Regions from separate parts of the Homo sapiens genome. Here region 2 is linked to region 1. The links are contacts of gene promoters, found by promoter capture Hi-C in human tissues and cell types (Jung and others, 2019). All regions are on one chromosome and are shown on one strand. The core of a region is centred on a gene start or on the middle of the fragment in contact, and the rest is flanking DNA. Distances in the headings are between cores, read along the strand shown.

Region 1 (3,217 bases), core at 342-2,841:
AAATTTGTAAAGCCAAACTGGGAACATTCTGCAGGATTCTCACACAGCCTCAGCCCTGGCCCTGACACATGCTCTGGGCCATGGGGAGCCTCAAGGACAGGTGTGGAAGGCTTCCAGGGAAGGCACAGTGGCTGGCAGGTCACCATTTCCAACAGATGTGCCAGAGAAGCCAAGGCTAGGGTAAGGAGACATTCAGGTCACACCCAGGCCCCTCCCTGTTGGCCAAACTCTTATCCCATGTTAGCTCCACAGATCCCAACAGCAGCTGCAGCCCAGTAATTTCCCTTGTAAGGCCTGGGCTCAGAGTAGCTCCTCCCAAGGGGCCCAGGGAATCTGCATGTGGGCTGAGATCCTGAGCCATCCTGGACACTCCTGCTCTATTCTTGTCCCCTGCCCCCCTGGGATGGAGCAAAAGTAGCCATGATGCCACTGCTGGCAGGTGGGGGTCACCCCAGGGCAGAAGGAGGGGTCCAGGGCAAGGGTGCTGACCAACAAGTCCTTACAAGGTGCCAGAACCTTGGGTGGGATCCAGGGTCCAGGCATGCGGGGTGTGCTACAGATGATGAGAAAACAACAGGGTGGGCTGGACACGGTGGCTCACGCCTGTAATCCCAGCACATTGGGAGGCCGAGGGGTGGCAGATCATGAGGTCAGGAGTTCGAGACCAGCCTGACCAACATGGTGAAACCCCATCTCTACTAAAAATACAAAAATTAGCCGGGCGTAGCGGTGCACGCCTGTAATCCCAGATACTCAGGAGGCTGAGGCAGGAGAATCGCTTGAACCTGGGAGGCAGAGGTTGCAGTGAGCCAAGATCGTGCCACTGCATCCAGTCTGGGTGACAGAGACTCCATCTCAAAAAAAAGAAAAGAAAAGAAAACAACAGGTGGCTGAAGCAGCCCAGATGGAAGTCCTTGAGAAGAGGTGGCCATACTCTCCAGTCACCCTCAAGCAGAGACCTCCCCACAACCCCCGGAGGATGGGCCCTCCTACTCTTCTACCCAGATTAGGGAGATTGGGCTGTTGAAGTGGGAAGAGGAAGGAGACCTAACATTTCCCTGTTCTTCCCCAGGGTGGCCTTGTAAAGATACTCAGGCTGTGTATGAACCACACATAGGAGTGCAACATGAATGGGAACCCCTGGATTTGTGTAGCAACGCAGCAGATCCCAGAGGCCCTCCCCAGTTCACCGTGTCCCAGTCCCTGGAAAATACAGACCTGTTGCTTTGCTCCCTGAGCCCTGCTGGACTATGCATGCACCTGTACCTGAGTGTGTGCCTGTGCACACACACTACCCTGAGCCCCTCAGCTCAGAGAGGTCCTACCCAGCAGCAGTGAGAGCCAAAACCTGTACCACAAGGGAACAAAAAAAGTACCCCTGGACTGCCACCCTCAGCCTCCTTCCCGCCTGGCCTTCAGTGTTTCCCCCAGCCTGGATCCAGCTTTGCTTCCCGCCTCCCTTCTCCACCGCCCTCCCCCTCCCCCCACAACCAAGCAGTGTGCCATCTAGCTGAGACAGCTGCAGAGCCTGACTAAGGAATCGCCCCCAGGGGGCCAGACATTTAAGGAACAGATGACACTGGTAGCCTCACTGTTGGGGCAAAGGAAGAAGGAGACGGGCCACCCTACAGTCCAGGCACTAGCTGAGCCTCCAAAGCCGTGGACACAGCATTCGAGTGTTGGGAGGGACTGGTCAGTGCTGAAGGTAAGGCTCCCCTCCTCCCTCAGGAAGGGGACAAAGCTGACCACCTTCTGAGCCCAGAGGGGACTATAGGGTAGAGGGCAGGAATAGGAACAGGGGAGTAGTCTCAGAACCCAAAGGTAGAAGCAGCCCAGGCAGAGATATATTAGGGGGTGGAGAGAGGGAATAGAGTTTAACCCCTAACTACCTGGGTTAAAGAAGGCTTTGGAGCCCTCTGGGACGCCACTGGACTGGAGTCAAAAGCTAGGAGTCTAGTCTGAGTGACCTTGGACAGGTCATTTCTTTCAGACATCAGTTTCCTCATATACGAAATAGGACTTTAAAAACTGCAATGCTGGGCCAGGCGCGGTGGCTCACGCCTGTAATCCTAGCACTTTGGGAGGCTGAGGTGGGCGGATCACGAGGTCAGGTATTCGAGACTAGCCTGGCCAACATAGTGAAACGCCATCTGTACTAAAAATACAAAAAATTAGCCGGGTGTGATGGCGGGTGCCTGTAGTCCCAGCTACTCGGGAGCCTGAGGCAGGAGAATTGCTTGAACCTGGGAGGCAGAGGTTGTCGTGGGCCAAGATCGTGCCACTGCACTCCAGCCTGGGCAACAGAGCAAGACTCTGTCTCAAAAAAACAAAAACAAAAAAACTGCAATGCTGGCCACATGCAGTGGCTCACACCTATAATCCCAGCACTTTGGGAGGCCAAGGCAGGCGGATCAATCGAGGCTAGGAGTTTGAGACCAGCCTGGCCAACAAGATGAAACCCTGTCTCTACTGAAAACACAAAAATTAGCTGGGCATGGTGGCACGTGCCTGTAAACCCAGCTGCTGGGGAGGCTGAGGCAGGAGAATGGCTTGAATTCGAGAGGAGGAGGTTGCAATGAGCCGAGATCACCCAAAAAAAACCGCAATGCTGGTTAAATAAAACATTGAGAAAACATGGTGCTCTGAACAGGAATGAGGAAACGCTATCATCTGGTATGGAAAAAATCTCCAAGACACATTAAATGAAAAAAGAAAGGGTCAGAATAGTGTGTATAATGGGCTACCTTATGTGCTTTTTTAATTAAAAAAAAAAAAGGAAGATGATAAGAACACATGAGTTTTCCTATTTGCATGATGGAGGTCTAGAAGGAGCCTAGAGACTGGCTACCTGTTGCAATGGGGAAGGTTGTAAGATAGACGCAGGAGTGGGAGGGAGCCTGTCCATATGGATTTTTATATTGTTTTATTCTTTAACTATGTGATTGAATTACCAGTTCAAAGAAAAATGTAAGAAAAACTAAACCTTTGCCTTTACCATGTCGCAAACACAAGCAGAATTGTAGTGATGTTTTGTCATCTGTTTTAGCATTCCACCAGTGCCGGGGTCCCCAGGGCCCAGGAATAAGAGACACAGCTTCCTTCTAAAGCCCACTCCAGTATGGCTTAGTCAGGAAGTTCTTTCTTAGGTCTGACTGCATTCCCTCCTGATGAAACATCCAGCACTGCCTCCTTAGTGCCATGTAGCTATCAATAGGTA
Region 2 (3,217 bases), core at 427-2,926, 630 kb after region 1:
GAGAATAATTGCCTGTCTCTTTGAGATGTTCCAGGGCCCTTAATTTTCACATAAGCCATGCAGCTTATATTTTAAGTTAAGGCTTCTCAAATACACACCTCACATTTAGTGAAAATCTGAAGCAGTGGACAGCCAGAGACTTAATTTTATTTATATATTTTACATTGCAGGTCCCCAAGCAAACTGACTTAGCTTTTGTGTCTTACATTCCTAGGTGAGATTTGGCTCATTTGGGGCCACATGTCCACTCACATGTCACCTGTGTGTTACGCCCCTTTAGGCACTGTGGCAGACTCTGTAGGAAGAAGTTATGAGGCTGCCACAGTTACATTGTGATCAGAATTTTTATTCTATTGATGATTTTGAAAACACAAATTCTGGTTTTGGACAGGACCCAATAGCAGTTCTTGACTTCTTTCCCCTACCGTGTTTTAAGCTCTTGGAGGACAAGAAGGAATTTTGTTTTTGTTTGAGACAAAGTCTCACTCTGTCGCCCAGGCTAGAGTGCAGTGGCGAGATCTCAGCTCACTGCACCCTCTGCCTCACGGGTTCAAGCAATCCTTCCACCTCAGCCTCCTGAGTAGGTGGGACTACAGATGGTACACCACCATGCCCAGCTAATTTTTGTATTGTTTGTAGAGATGGCGTTTCACTATGTTTGCCTAGGCTGGTCTCGAACTCCTGGGCTCAAGTGATCCGCCTGTCCTGGCCTCCCAAAGTGTTAGGATTACAGGCGTGAGCCACCTCGCCCAGCCAAGTTTTACCTTTTTTTTTTTTTTCCTTTTTTTCTCGCTGTGTTGCCCAGGCTGGAGTACAGTGGCAAAGTCATGGCTCACTGCAACCTTGAGCTCCCCAGGCTCAAGTGATCCTCCCACCTCAACCTCCCAAGTAGCTGGGACTGCAGGCATGTGCCACCACACCTGGCTAATTTTCGTATTTTTTGTGGATATGGGTTTTCACTATGTTTGCCCAAGCTGGGCTCAAGTAATCCACCCACCTCGGCCTTCTAACCAGCCTCCCAAAGTGTTAGGATTACAGGTGTGAACCACTGCGCCCAGCGTGTTGCTTTTTTCCCTTGTCCCCCGCTTCTAGTTTAATACCTGATAGGTAATCACCAAATGTGTTTGAATGTGTTTAATGAGAATTCCTAGTGGGCAGAAAAATTATTAAGGTAAATAGATTCGGGCAGAAAAGAGTGGGATAATCCTCTGGAGTATTGTAGGTAGTTTAGATTTGTTTATGAAATTGTTCCATTGTCTGGGACTAGTTACCATAAAGACTCTCTAACATCACTTTTGTCTGTTGACACAGTTCCTAAGCCTGTGTTTTTTTTTTCTTGTGTCTAAAATTCTAATTTTATTTTATTTTTTTATTTTTTTTGGAGACAGAGTCTCGCTCTGTCACCCAGGCTGGAGTGCAGTGGCGTGATCTCAGCTCACTGCAACCTCTGCCTCCCGGGTTCTAGCGATTCGCCTGCCTCAGCCTCCTGAGTAGCTGGGACTACAGGTGCATGCCGCCATGCCCGGCTAATTTTTTTGTATTTTTAGTAGAGACAGGGTTTCACCGTGTTGCCCAGCTGGTCTTGAACTCCTGAGCTCAGGCAATCTGCCAGCCTTGGCCTCCCAATGTGCTAGGATTACAGGTGTCAGCCACTGCGCCTGGCGTAAAATTCTAATTTTAATATAGAATTTTATGGTTGCCTGAGCTTTAGGGTTTAGGGAGGAATATTCAACATCCAAGTTAATAATCATTTTTCTTTTCAGGACGTGGCTTTATTTCTCCAAGAATTTAATGCTCCTGATATATTCATGGGAGTACTGGCCAAGTCCAAGTGTCCTCGATTAAGAGTAAGTATGTACATTTCTAAAGCCTTCTTCTTTGAAGCAATAAGAACAGATAGTGCTGGATAGTCTTTTATTTTTCTCACTTTGATTTTCTTACTGACCATAAATCAACAAATCAGCCTGTAGATGTTAATTGAACATTGCCAGGTCCTAGGTAATTTGCTATTTAAATTTATTTTATTTTATTTTTGAGACAGGGTCTCACTATGTCTCCAGGGCTTGGAGTGCAGTGGCGTGATCACGGCTCACTGCAGTCTTGACCTCCTGGGCTCAAGGGACCCTCCCACCTCAGCCTCCCAAGTAACTGGGAGTATAGGTGTAAGCCACCACACCCAGCTAATTTTTATTTTTATTTTGTGGAGACAAAGGTCTCCTTATGTTGCCCAGGCTGGTCTTGAACTCCTGGCCTCAAGTGATCCTCCCACCTTGGCCTCCCAAAGTGCTGGGATTATAAGCGTGAGCTAAATGCCTGTAATAATTTAAAATATTAAATTATTAATAATTTAATAATTTAAAATTATGAAAATCATAGAATTTTAGATTCAGGCCGGACCAGGGAAATTAGCACTTTCATTTACCAGCTGTGGAGACGAGTTAGGCATAACCACTGTTATGCTGCTAGTATGTATCAGAACAAGGAACAGAGCCTGGGCCTCCCATTTTTCAGTTGATTTCTCTTTTTTACTGACAAAATCCACCATTGCTTGAAAACCATTCTAAACTCAGCCTGCTGCTTAAGACCTCTACTCTCTGAACCTAACTCATCTTTCCAGCATAAAATCTGGATAGCCAGGTAACCCTTCTGATTTAGCCAGACCTTTCTACTCCCTGTCTCATGCTGTCTCCGTGCCTCCCTTTGTGTGCCTTCTGTCCCCTCTCAGTATTTGCATCTGTTAATTCACAGTGGTACTTTTCCTTCCACACCTTCCCAAGTAAGTAAGTAAGCTTTCAGTAGTCATTGCTGTTAGTAAACTGCCAAGAACAATAGATAAAGACTAAAGGAGAGGCCTTTATATACTGTGCAGTGTACTGTGCTTTATTGCCAATTAAATTGCCATGTGCTATGCATATCATGGATTAGTAAATATCTGTTCAATAATTATAATTATGAAAAACTGCTGTTTACTGAATACCTGGTCTTACTACTATGAGGTATACTTTCAAAGAACTAAATCTTGGGTGAAGATATGTGTTCAGGGTCACACAGCTAGGAAAGAATGGAGCTGAGATTTCAGCCTAGGCCTGACTTCAGTATAACCACTGTACTGTATTTCCTCTCTTTCAGATTATAAAATGGAGAATTCCATAGTGTATTTTTACAAATTGAATGTTGAATTAGAATTCTTATTTAAGTAGAATGTTCTCTCTGAATT

The links. The method cuts DNA at HindIII sites, captures the fragments that hold promoters and counts their contacts. A contact is called where the count stands out against the background at its distance.
Region 2: a fragment that was not itself captured here is called in contact with the fragment with the promoter of IGSF22 in region 1 in 1 of the 25 tissues and cell types used here (lymphoblastoid cells).

What each region holds. Positions count from the first base shown.
Region 1 is chr11:18,724,562-18,727,778 of GRCh38, reverse strand. IGSF22 (immunoglobulin superfamily member 22) reads left to right here and starts at 1,591. Exons shown (of 23, transcript NM_173588.4): 1 at 1,591-1,705. The region is part of intron 2 of IGSF22-AS1 (IGSF22 antisense RNA 1); the gene reads right to left. The HindIII fragment of the contact is 11,359 bases long and covers 1-3,217 here.
Region 2 is chr11:18,095,401-18,098,617 of GRCh38, reverse strand. SAAL1 (serum amyloid A like 1) reads left to right here. Exons shown (of 12, transcript NM_138421.3): 3 at 1,764-1,847. Among named protein-coding and RNA genes, the nearest start is that of SAAL1, 9.1 kb to the left of the region's middle. The HindIII fragment of the contact is 6,383 bases long and covers 1-3,217 here.